Regions from separate parts of the Homo sapiens genome. Here region 2 is linked to region 1. Evidence: promoter capture Hi-C in human tissues and cell types (Jung and others, 2019). All regions are on one chromosome and are shown on one strand. Each heading gives the region's core, a stretch centred on a gene start or on the middle of the fragment in contact. The rest is flanking DNA. Distances are from core to core; before and after follow the strand shown.

Evidence for each region. The method cuts DNA at HindIII sites, captures the fragments that hold promoters and counts their contacts. A contact is called where the count stands out against the background at its distance.
Region 2: a contact is called between a fragment that was not itself captured here and the fragment with the promoter of POPDC3 in region 1, in 1 of the 25 tissues and cell types used here (thymus).

The regions. Positions count from the first base shown.
Region 1 is chr6:105,176,496-105,182,522 of GRCh38, forward strand. POPDC3 (popeye domain cAMP effector 3) reads right to left here and starts at 3,519. Exons shown (of 4, transcript NM_022361.5): 1 at 3,338-3,519. The HindIII fragment of the contact is 10,229 bases long and covers 1-6,027 here.
Region 2 is chr6:105,217,725-105,223,751 of GRCh38, forward strand. No RefSeq gene overlaps it. Among named protein-coding and RNA genes, the nearest start is that of POPDC3, 41 kb to the left of the region's middle. The HindIII fragment of the contact is 8,659 bases long and covers 1-6,027 here.

The DNA of each region.
Region 1 (6,027 bases), core at 2,269-4,768:
ATGGCCTCCTGCTTATTTAACAATTCTATTTTTTATAAAAGCATTTCTTTTTAATCTTTTGACATATCGTTTTTTTTTTAAGACAGAGTCTTGCTCTGTCACCCAGGCTGGAGTGCGGTGGCGCGATCTCAGCTCACTGCAAGCTCCGCCTCCCAGGTCCAAACAATTCTCCTGCCTCAGCCTCCCAAGTAGCTGGGACTGCAGGCGCACGCAACCACGCCTGGCTAATTTTTGTATTTTTAGTAGAGACACGGGGTTTCACCACGTTGGCCAGGCTGGTCTCAAACTCCTGACCTCAGGTGATCCGCCCGCCTCAGCCTCCCAAAGTGCTGGGATTACAGGCGTGAGCCACCAAGCCCGACCAACATATCCTATTTGTGTAAAAATAGAAAGACATACGCAATGATTTTCACTTCATGTTAAAGATGAATATATCTTGATAGTGGGATAGAAACTATTTTTACCTTTTTAAAAACAGCTGCATTATTTGTATTCTTATAATGATTTTGGGAAACAATATGGTGATTTTATACCAATGTAAAAAAATTTTAAATATAAACATTTAAAAAAATCCATGAACCCAACAACCAGAATTAACAACCATCAACACTGTCATATTTTCTTTAGATTGTTTCATAATAAAAAATATTCCACACAAAAAATTGAAGACTGCCATGGATTGTTCTCCAGGACCAGTCGCTGCCCATCCACTCCCTATATAGTACATAATTTATATTTCTCTATATTTAAATATTCACTAATTAAAAAATACAATGTAAAATGAAACAGACAATGTAAAATGAAATCCTGGACTAGAAATAACTCAAAGTGTGGGGTTTTTTTTTCAGATTCACACTTAAATTTTTTTCTGATAATTTTGAACACATACAAAAATAGAGAAAATAGTATACAACAAATTCCCATATACCTGTTACCCAGATTCAACAATTATCAAGATTTTGCCACACAGAATTTTGAAATTAAAAGCAAAAGCTGTTATCTACAGTTCAGCTGCAATTTGTTCAGCTAGGAAACAAACACCTTCCAAAGAAGACAGGAAGAACCAAGATCAGCTGTGCTCTTTCTCTGTGCAGGTACTAATTCCTAAAACAGATCCATTTAGGAGTCACAGCAACTCTGAAACCTACATACTATTGTCAGCATTGTTCAGAGTGGAAGATGAAGCTCAGAGGGATGGAGATTCTTCTGTAAGCTTAGCCAGTTGCTTGTCCTTCCAATACTACCCCACAACACCTTCCTTCATGATCCCATCCTAGCCAATTTCAGTGTGCCAGAGTCACTGGAGGTTATTATTCTGTTGAAGAACACAAAGTAAGAAAGTCTCGCTAAAAGTCTGTGTGAATCAATCCCTGGATTCTCTGGGTTGGAGGAGGACCCTGCATTTTTATAGGTAATTTCAGTCAGGAACTTTCGGTTATTTATTTAATTTAGAAAACACCTGATGTAATTTTCCTTGTAAGACTTTTTCTTATAACTACTTAGATAAAAGGGAGAAACATTTTCTCTCTTCCTTTAAAACAATCGAATCGGTGATTCGATATACTCTTCTATTAATTGGAGGGACATTCTCTCGAGGGAGCTCATAATCCCAACTGACCAATGACCATAATTACAAAATGTGATCTCAACTGCAGTTTACAGACTTTCAGATCTATCATGGATATTTCCAAAGCAGTTTTGAAATTTCTTGCCTGCCATGTTGCTTATGTGTTATGCTCACATACTGTAGCAAATGCTTCATAACATTCTTAATTCTTCCTGGAGACTGTTTCAAAATAAGCAGGCATCAGTGCTCTAGTGTGTCAACCGTATTAGTCAGTCTTGTGGTGAAAAGTATGGGACTTTTGTTTCCCATGACACATTTTTATTTAATAGCATAGAATGTAACCATTTAGAGGCAGAAGATGCACCATGATTCAGCTATTTTGAGGGACTGATATGATTAAAGAAACTCAACTATCAAATATTTCCCATTTAAATGTATAAAATTTTGAGGACAGAGAATATCTTAGATTTCAATTAATATTTGTATCCCAAACTCCTGAAGACACACACACACACACACACACACACACACACACACACACACACACAGATTTTTCAGGACAGAACCTCAGAGATATCTGGAATCTGGGATCAGCCAGAGCTCTTCATTTTGCGAATATGGAAACTGAGATCCAATTTTTTGTTTATATTTTCTGTCTCATGTAGTTCTTGTTTGGTTTTCTATTGTCACAAAGAACAATGCCAAGTTATTGTACTCTCACAAGAGGATATTTTCATGCAACAGTCCGTAGAATTAAAAACAAGAAGGAAAAAAAATAGCCACTAAACTTAGTATGAACAGGCAACAATAATTTTTTAAGGCTGCTATAAAACTCAATTGCAGTTTGTAGGCTTGCAAATTCAAAATATCTAACTACCGGAATTAGAGTGAAAAGTCAGGAAGCAACGAAGTTTAGTAAATCAAATTGCGTCCAAAAGTGGGCTTCTAATTCTACTTTTCCATTTATTATTTACAAACAGAATTTTTCACTTTCTGCAAATGTCTTCTGGCTAAATTTTTGGCACTGCCCCTCTTACTGTATTTTGGTTGTGCCTTTCATCTTTGCCTAAAATACAGACCCTCAAAACTATACCACTGTAACCGACATGGTGATAAGACAATTTAGGGGTTGGCAAATTTCTTTTTTGGCAGGGGGATCCCCAAATGGAGAAAACAGGTCCGCGCGACCTTTGATGAGGCAGCTTTTTTGTACCCCCAACTCTGTGAGAACAGTGTGAGAGCACTGACACCAGTCAGGCCCTTTGCTTACAGACCGGGGGCGGGAGTAGGGGGGAAGGAAACTCCCGGCGCTGGCATGACTTCCCCAGGACTGACAAGGGCCCCTAGGAACGGCTTTTCTCCCTTGCAAAACTGGCCTGTTTATTTCGGCTCCAGGGTGCCTGGGGCCAGAGTAGGACCTGCAGGAAAAGATCTGGGAGGAATATTCGCCCAGAAGCCTCTAGGGCATACGACTCGCGTTCTTCAGGGGTCGGCGCGGATAGGAACCGCAGCAAAGGATCCCCTAGACCTCCGAGCTGTGAGCGGCGACACAGCCGGGACCCCAGACCCCGGACCCCAGGGCGCGGAGTTGACCGGAGCCGGGAAGGGAGCGGCGCGGGCAGCGCGGGGCAGCGAGACGCAAGCGCTCGCAGGGGTCGGCGGCCCAGCAGAAGCCGCGCCCGCTAAGTTGCCCGAAGCGGCCGCGAGGTGCGAGGGTGCGGACAGCACCGGAAGGCGGCGGACGCAGCGCCCCCGGGCTCACCTTCTTACCTTTCCTTCCCAGCCCTGCCCGGAGCTTCAGCCCGGCGCCCGCAGAAGTTTCCCGGCGGAGCGCGCTTGACCCGGGTGGCCCGCGCGGAAGCCCTCAGCGTCCCCCTCGTGAGTGCCTCGCCGCCCACCCTGCGGCGCCGGGCGCAGCGTGACCGCAGCGGGCTCCGGAGCGGCGCGGCGGCGCGGGCGGGTGCCGGGCACGGGCGCGCGCCCCGGGGCGCAGCCGGGTGGGCGGGCGCGGCGGCTGCGTCTGGGCCGGGGCAGGCGGTTCGGCCACCGGGGTGCGGGGCTGCGGAGAATCCTAGCGGCCGCTACGGACCGAAGTTTCCAAAGATGCGGTTCCCCGAGTGTACACCGCTCCCGGTTGTAACATACACCTAGTATTCACAGTCACACTAGGCAGGAGCGATGGGCTGGCTGCTGAACCAAGGCAACTGCACGCCTGCTCTCTCACCCCCGCTCCACACACACCGTAAACAAAATGAAGAGGTAAATCACCATAGTGGGGACGGGAATATTAGGGTGTATTGGACAGAGAGAGAGAGAGAGAGAGGTAAATATAGTATTTTTTTTTTTTTTAGAGATGGTGTCTCGCTCTGTCACCCAGGCTGGAGTGCAGTGGTGATCACGGCTCACTGCAATCTCGACCTCCTGGGCCCAGGCATCCTCCTGACTCAGCCTCCTAAAGCTTAGGATTGCAGATGTGAGCCACCGCACCCAACCAATAAATACGGACTGTTGCATGAAAAATAAAATATCTATATTCAAATCAATGAACATCTCTAAAAGCAAATGAGTAAAGGGCATAGACAATCATAAAAGGAAAAAATTTAAAAACACAAATGACAAAAAGCTCATATCAGTAATAACCAAATGCATACAATTTTAAAGCAATGATCAGGTGCATTTTTTCTTCCTTTGCAATTAGCAAAGTTTTGTTTTGTTTTTGTGATGAAACAAATGTGAGGGTTGGTGACGACCAGTAAAACACGCCACTAATTTAAGAATGTCATCTCCTGTCTTCTAGTTCGCTTTCATTTTATATAACCATATTGATAACAGCGACTCCAGGAACAAGAATTTATTGAGCAATCAGTGTCTTTTTTGAGCCCCAGGGTAACCACAAAAACAGTGAATATAGATGGTAAAATTAACTCCCTTTAATTGATGCTGGAACTGAGGATCAAGAAATACACATATTCTTACACCCCAGAAATGGCTAGAAACCAGTTGACTCCTAGGCCTTTGCTCTTTCTCTTCATTGCAGGGATTTACTCAAATGTTGGAAATCCAGTTTGAACTGGATGTAGTCCATAGTGTGTGTGTGTGTGTGTGTGTGTGTGTGTGTGTGTGTATATATATGTATATATATATATATACACACACACACACCTTTAAACTATGGCCAGGGAAGTGAGAAGCCCATGAACTTTGAGGTCAGATGTACTCTGGATTTAGATTTTACTTGTTTAGTGTCCTACATTTTAAAAATTTAAGGATTATATTACTGTTATTTTTAATTTAAAAACTCAGAAGCTGTTACTGTTGCCCTGGATTCTTATGATCTCCCATGATAGAGATTAACAGAGATCACCAAACATAGCAGCAAAGGAAAGTGTATTCAGCTTGTGCGCAAGGGAGTCAGCACCAAGAAAGGCAAAGGAACGGACTGCTCTGAGGATAGTGTGTGGGTCAGTTTTATAGGGTCTTTCTATAGGGGAGGGTTACATCAGGGCACCTATAGGAGGAGTTTTTCTAGTGCTTGCACAGTGGCCCAATATGCTTTTTCATACATCATATGTAGCATTAGCATTTTAAATCTCCACCCCAGGAGTAATTTTTAGCATTAAAGTGAGGAAGGGGTAAATGTAGGTTGGAGTTTAAGTCTAACTGTACAGGCGGGGATCTGGGGAAGTCCCTAGCCCTCTGAAATAGGAGCTTGCAGTTAACAGCTTCTTGGGTGTTTTGTTACCTATTGACTGAGAGTTAGATAAGCTAGAGCTTGAGTAAGGAGCTTTTATCCTTTTTCACCACACCATCTTAAAATAGCTTTCCTGTCTCAATGCAACAAAGATATCCCTGTGTGACAGATTCTTCAGTGGCCCCAATAGTTTCTGATTCCCAGTACCTGTTCATGTTCATACCTGTGTTAGATCCCCTCCTCCTAAGAGGGGTTGGGACCTGTGACTTGCTTCTGAAAATAAATATAACAAAGGTGATGGATATCACTCCCATGACCACATTACATTATAAAAGACTGTCTCTTATGAACAGACTCTCTCTAGAGACTGTCCGGTCTGGCCTGATGAAGGCAGTGGCCATGCTTGGAAAGTCCACATGGTGAGGAACCATGGGCAGCCTCTAGGAGCTGAAAGGCAGCTTCCGGCCCATAGCCAGCCAGCAAGAAGTCCTACAAACTCCAGGAAATGAATTCTGTCAACAGCCTAAGTGAACTTGGAAGTAAATCTTTCCCCAGTCAATCATCCACATGAGAACACAAACCAATGACACCTTAATTGCAGTTTTGTGAAACCCTGAGCAGAGGATCTACTTAATCCATGCCTGGACTCCTAAATGCACCCCCCGACCCAAATTTTGAGAGTATATACAGAGTGCGATCCCTCTTTGAAAATTTTGTGTTAAATACTGCTGCCCTGCTGCATTCTGATTTTTCTCTTTCTTACTCCTTC
Region 2 (6,027 bases), core at 2,367-4,866, 41 kb after region 1:
GTAGTTTCCCATTGACCTTAATCATAGGGCATGGTAATAGTAAGAGACGCCCCAGGGGATCACCAGTATTCCACGCTTATTCTTCTTACCTCTGTTATGGAGCAGTAGACTGATCTCATCATGATAGCCTGGGTCAATCACCCCAGCCAACACTGTAACTCCCTTCTTAGCCAGTTGACTTAAGGTAGGAGTAGTCCAAAGTGTTCAGGTGTAAGTCTTAACTTCCAGTTTAGTGGAATCGTTGTGTCTCCTGGTGGCAGAATTCCTCCCTCTGGAACTAAAACCTCTAGGCCACCAGAATGTAATGGGGAACAGGAAGCAAAAATTTTGCTAGTGGATCACTAGGGGTGATGGCATGTGGTACCACATCCACTTCCACCTCTTGATTCCTGGACCCGTGAATTCTGGCTATGGGAGAAACAATACCATATATTTGATGCTGATTCAGAGCATACATGGCCTTCTGGAGAACTTTGCCCCAGCCCTGCAAAGTATTATCACCTAGTTGGCATTGTAATTGTGATTTCAAAAGGCCATTCCACCATTCTATTAATCCAGCTGCCTCAGGATGATGGGGAATATCGTAAGACCAGTGAATTCCATGAGCATGAGCCCACTGCCACACTTCTTCAGCCATAAAGTGAGTGCCTTGGTCAGAGGCAATGCTGTGTGGAATACCGTGACGGTGGATAACGCATTCTGTGTGTCCACGGATGGTAGTCTTGGCAGAAGCATTGTGTGCAGGATAGGCAAATCCATATCTGGAGTAAATGTCTATTCCAGTGAGGATAAACCTCTGCCCTTTTCATGATGGAAGAGGTCCAATATAATCAACCTGCCACCAGGTAGCTGGCTGATCACCCTAAGGAACGGTGCCATATTGAGGGCTCAGTGTTGGTCTCTGCTACTGGCAAATTGGGCACTCAGCAGTGTCTGTAGCCAGGTCAGCCTTGGTGAGTAGAAGTCCATGTTGCTGAGCATAACCTCTATCACTGCCACCATGGCCACTTTTATCATGGGCCCACTGGGTGATGACAGGGGTGGCTGGGGAAAGAGGCTGGGTGGTGTCCACAGAACAGGCCATCCTATCCACTCGATTATTAAAATCCTCCTCTGCTGAGGTAACCTGTTGCTGAGCACTCACATGAAATACAAATATCTTCAGTTTTTGACCACTCAGAGAGGTCCACATCCACATACCTCTTCCCCAAGTTTCTTTGTCACCAATTTTCCAATCATGCTTCTTCTAAGTCCCTGACCATCCAGCCAAACCATTGGCTACAGCCCATGAATCAGCATATAATCGCACATCTGGCCATTTCTCTTTCCATGCAAAGTGCCCAGCCAGGTGTACTTCTCGAAGTTCTGCCCACTGGGAAGATTTCCCTTCACCACTGTCCTCTGGGGATGCCCTAGCAAGGGGCTATAGTGCTGCAGCTGTCCACTTTTGGGTGGTGCCTGCATATTGTGCAGAACCATCTATAAACCAGGCCCTAATCTTCTCTTCCTCTGCCAACGGATCATAGGGAACTCCCCATGAGGCCATCGGTGCAGGCTGGGGGAGAGAAGGCAGGGTGGCAGGAGTAGAGACCATGGGCATTTGAGCCACTTCCTCATGTAACTTAACTGTGCCTTCAGGACCTGCTCGAGCCTAATTACGTATATACCACTTCCATTTGATGATGAAATGGCGCGGTGCATGACTTACTTTATGGCTAGATGAGTCAGAAAGCACCCAGTTCATAACAGGCAGTTCAGGTCGTATGGTGACTTGATGACCCATCGTCAAACGTTCAGTTTCCACCAAAGCCCAGTAACAGGCCAAGAGCTGTCTCTCAAAATGAGATTAGTTATCTGCAGAAGATGGCAGGACCTTGCTCAAAAATCCTAGAGGCCTCTGCTGTGGTCCACCTATGGGGGCCTGCCAAAGGCTCCAAACAGCATCTCTTTCTGCCACTGACACCTCAAGCACCATTGGATCTGCTGGGTCGTATGGCCCAAGTGGCAGAGAAGCTGGCATAGCAGCCTGGACCTGGTGCAGAGCCTTCTTCTGTTCTGGACCCCACTCAAAACTGGCAGCCTTTTGGGTCACTCAATAAATGGGCCAGAGGAACATATTCAAATGAGGAATGTGTTGCCTCCAAAATGCAAATAGGCCCATTAGGTGTTGTGCCTGTTTCTTGGTTGTAGAAGGGGCCAAATGCAGCAACTTATCCTTCACCTTGGAAGGAATATCTCAACATGCCCTATACCACTGGACCCCTAGAAATTTTACTGAGGTAGAAAGTCCCTGAATTGTAGTTGCATTTATTTTCAATGCTGTGGCATGCTAATGTCTCACCAATCAGTCCAGTCTGTTTGCTACTTCTTGCTCACTGGATCCAATTAGCATAATGTCAGCAATGTAATGGACCAATGTGATATATTGTGGAAGTGAAAACTGATCAAGGTCTCTCTGAATCAGATTATGACAAAAGCTGGAGAGTTGATATACCCCTGAGGTAGGACAGTAAAAGTATATTGCTGGCCTTGCCAGCTGAAGCCAAATTGCTTCTGGTGGGCCTTACAGACAGGAATGGAGAAAAAGTCATTTGCCAAGTCAACGGCTGCATACAAGGTACCAGGAGACATGTTAATTTGCTCAAGCGATGCAAACACATCTGGTACAGCAGCTGCAATTGAAGTCATCACTTTGTTAAGCTTATGATAACACACTGTCATTCTCTAAGATCCATCTGTCTTCTGCACAGGCCAGATAGAGTTGAATGGGGATGTGGTGGGAATCGCCACCCCTGCCCCTGTGGCTTTCAAGCCCTTGATGGTAGCGCTAATCTCTGCAGTCCCTCCAGGGATGCGGTGTTGTTTTTGATTTATAATTTTCCTAGGTAGAGGCAGTTCTAATGGCTTCCATTTGGCCTTTCCCACCATAATAGCCCTCACCCTACCAGTCAGGGAGCCAATATGGGAGTTCTGCCAGCTGCTAAGTATGTCTATGCCAATTATGCATTCTGGCACAGGAGAAATGAACACAAGATGAGTCGGGGACCCAGTGTAAGTAGGACCTGAGCTAAAACTCCATTACCTCCATAAACCCCTACTTTAACTGGAGGACCACAATTCGGGTCCCCTGGAATCAACATCAGCTCACAGCCAGTGTCCAGTCGTCCCTGAAATGTCTGATCATTTCCCTTTCCCCACTGCACACTCTGGTAAAAGGCTGGATGTGTCCTTGGGGAAGGATGGGAGAAAGATTAGCATAAATTGTTGGTAGTGTAGTGGGGTTCTTCCTCAATGGGACCTGGGCCCCCCTTCATTCAAGGGATTCCAGGTCTGTAAACTGGCTCAAGTCTGGAAATTGACTGAGGGGCTATGATTCTCTGTTCAAATTAGTCTTTTGTTCATTTGACCTGGAAGTTATGCAGTAGGCTTCCTATCAATTTCACTTTTAAGAACAACATCATTAATTAGCCAATGCCAGAGCTCTATGTGAGTCAGACTATGTGATTGCTGCTTTGCCTCTGCTGTCCATTATGGTAGCTGTGCCCACCTTTCCTTTGACAGCTGGGTGCTGCCAAGTTGTCCGTGCCATCTCAGGATCCAATTATTCCCATTGTATTTAAATTTTGTAGTCGGGTGACTGTGGTTCCCACTGTTAGATCTGACATACAGAGAAGAGCAATTACAGGGCTCTTAAAAAATGCAGGTGCTGCCCTCACAAATCTATTTCACAAAGCATTGGTCAAGGGTATATCTTCTGGACCCTCCCAGCTGGGATGAGTAAGTCTAAAGTGACTAATCCACTTCAGCATCCCAATCTCCCTAAGCCTTTGGATCCCTTCCTCTACATTAAACCAAGGGAGATCAGGCATTTCCAGCTCACTCACAGTGGGCCATCTTTTAATCCATATTTCGGCTAACCAAGCAAATAAACTATTAGAACCTTTTTTAACTCCCCAAGTTGCAACATTAAATGCAGAATCCCTACTTAGTGGGCCCAAATCAATAAATTGAGCCTGATCCAACTCTGTTCCTTCCACCATTATCTCACACCCTTAATATCCATTCCCATGCCTGTTCTCCAGATTTCTGTTCATTTAAATTAGAGAACTCAAGCAGTTCTTTTCGAGTGTAGTGTACCTCCTCATGGGTCACACTCTCAACCTCACTTCTAGGGCCCTGCCAGGACTTATAGGTCAGAAGCAAACAGGAGTATTGGGGTGGCTCCTGAGGAGAATCAACATTATCTTGCCTGGCAACTGGCTCAGGGGAGGCCATCACTGTTGCCTCAGGCAGTGCAGGGTTTATCTCCTCAGAGAAAGGTGGAAAGGCTGATGCCAGTGTAGGTCAGGGAGGGAATGTTGCCACTACTGGTGATGGGGAAGCCGTTTCTTCTGGCAAAAAGAGTTCACCAGAGTTTACAAGCTCAGTGTCCCCAGCTTCATCCCACACGTCCCCATTCGAAGTTGCAGGGTCCCATTCTCCTCTAATCATTGCCCTCATTTTAACAGGAGACACCTGGTGAGGCTGTGCATGCACCTTTCATTGCAGGTCAGCCTCTTGCGTGATAAGAGCTTGTGTGTGATTTTCCACAATTTCAGCTCTTTCTCCACAGGAGATAAGACTCTCACTCAGGGCAATCTTAGAAGATTTGAGGCTCAATATCTGCTTCTGAAGCTGGGAGACAGAATCCCTGAGTTCATTATTTTCTTTCATCACTGTGTCTAGTGAACTTAGGAGCAACCAACCAGCTTCATTATGTTCCTTGGTTCTCCGCATATGGTCAAAGGTATTATGTATAGAGTCACTAAACTCCTTGTCTCTCACGAGCAGTGGATCAGGAGTGTCAAATACATTTATTTTGCCTAACTTTCTAAACAGTTTATGCCAGGGACTCTTGGTATCCTCCATACTATTAGAAGTACAGTCCTTAGTATTTTTGGGTCTAATCATTTTAAGCAGCCACCTCCAGAAACCCCCAAACCAACAAAATAACTCCATCCTTAATATTCTGTTCCTCTAGAACCACTCCTGGTACCAAAATCTGTATTAGGGTTCTCTAGAGGGACAGAACTAATAGGATAGACATATATATAAAGGAGAGTTTATTATTAACTCACATGATCACAAGGTCCCACAATCTGCAAGCTGAGGAGCAAGGAAGCCAGTCTGAGTCTGAGTCTGAGTCCCAAAGCTGAAGAACTTGGAGTCTGATGTTTGAGCGCAGGAAATATCCAGCATGAGAGAAAGACGTAGGTGGGGAGGCTAAGCCAGTCTAACCTTTCCAGGTTTTCCTGCCTGCTTTATATTTGCTGGCAGCTGATTAGATGATACTCACCCAGATTAAGGGCGGGTCTGCCTTCCCCAGCCCACTGACTCAAATGTTAATCTCCTTTGGCAACACCCACACAGACCTACCCAGGATTAATACTTTGCATCCTTCAATCCAATCAAGTTGACATTCAGTATTAGCCATCACAGCTACTTCATGAACTAACTAGAACCCAAAGCCTAAGGCAAAGTTTGAATACTAAGGTTTTACTGGGAGATGCAATTCAAGAGCAGCAGGAGTGAAGGAAAAAGTAAGTGAGGCAGGGAATGAGGAAAAGCAAATGCAAGGTGGTATGTTACTGAGCCAGCACAACCTCATAAAAATTACACAGCTGGTTGTTTGGTTATGTAGAACATTTTCCAGAGGGCCAGTGTGAAATGATACACCTTGGAATAGTGCATAGAGGACACTTCCACTCAGGCAAATAAAAATAGAAGGGCAGGCCAGGCATGGTGGCTCATGCCTATAATCCTAGCACTTTGGGAGGCCAAGGAGGGAGGGTCACTTGAGGCCATGAGTTGGAGACCAGTCTGGCCAACATGGTGAAACCTGTTCTCTACTAAAATACAAAAATTAGCCGGGTGTGGTGGGGTGTGCCCGTAACCCCAGCTACTCGGGAGGCTGAGGCAGGAGAATCACTTGAATCTGGGAGGTGGAAGTTGCAGTGAGCTGAGATAGACCCATTGCACTTCAGCCTG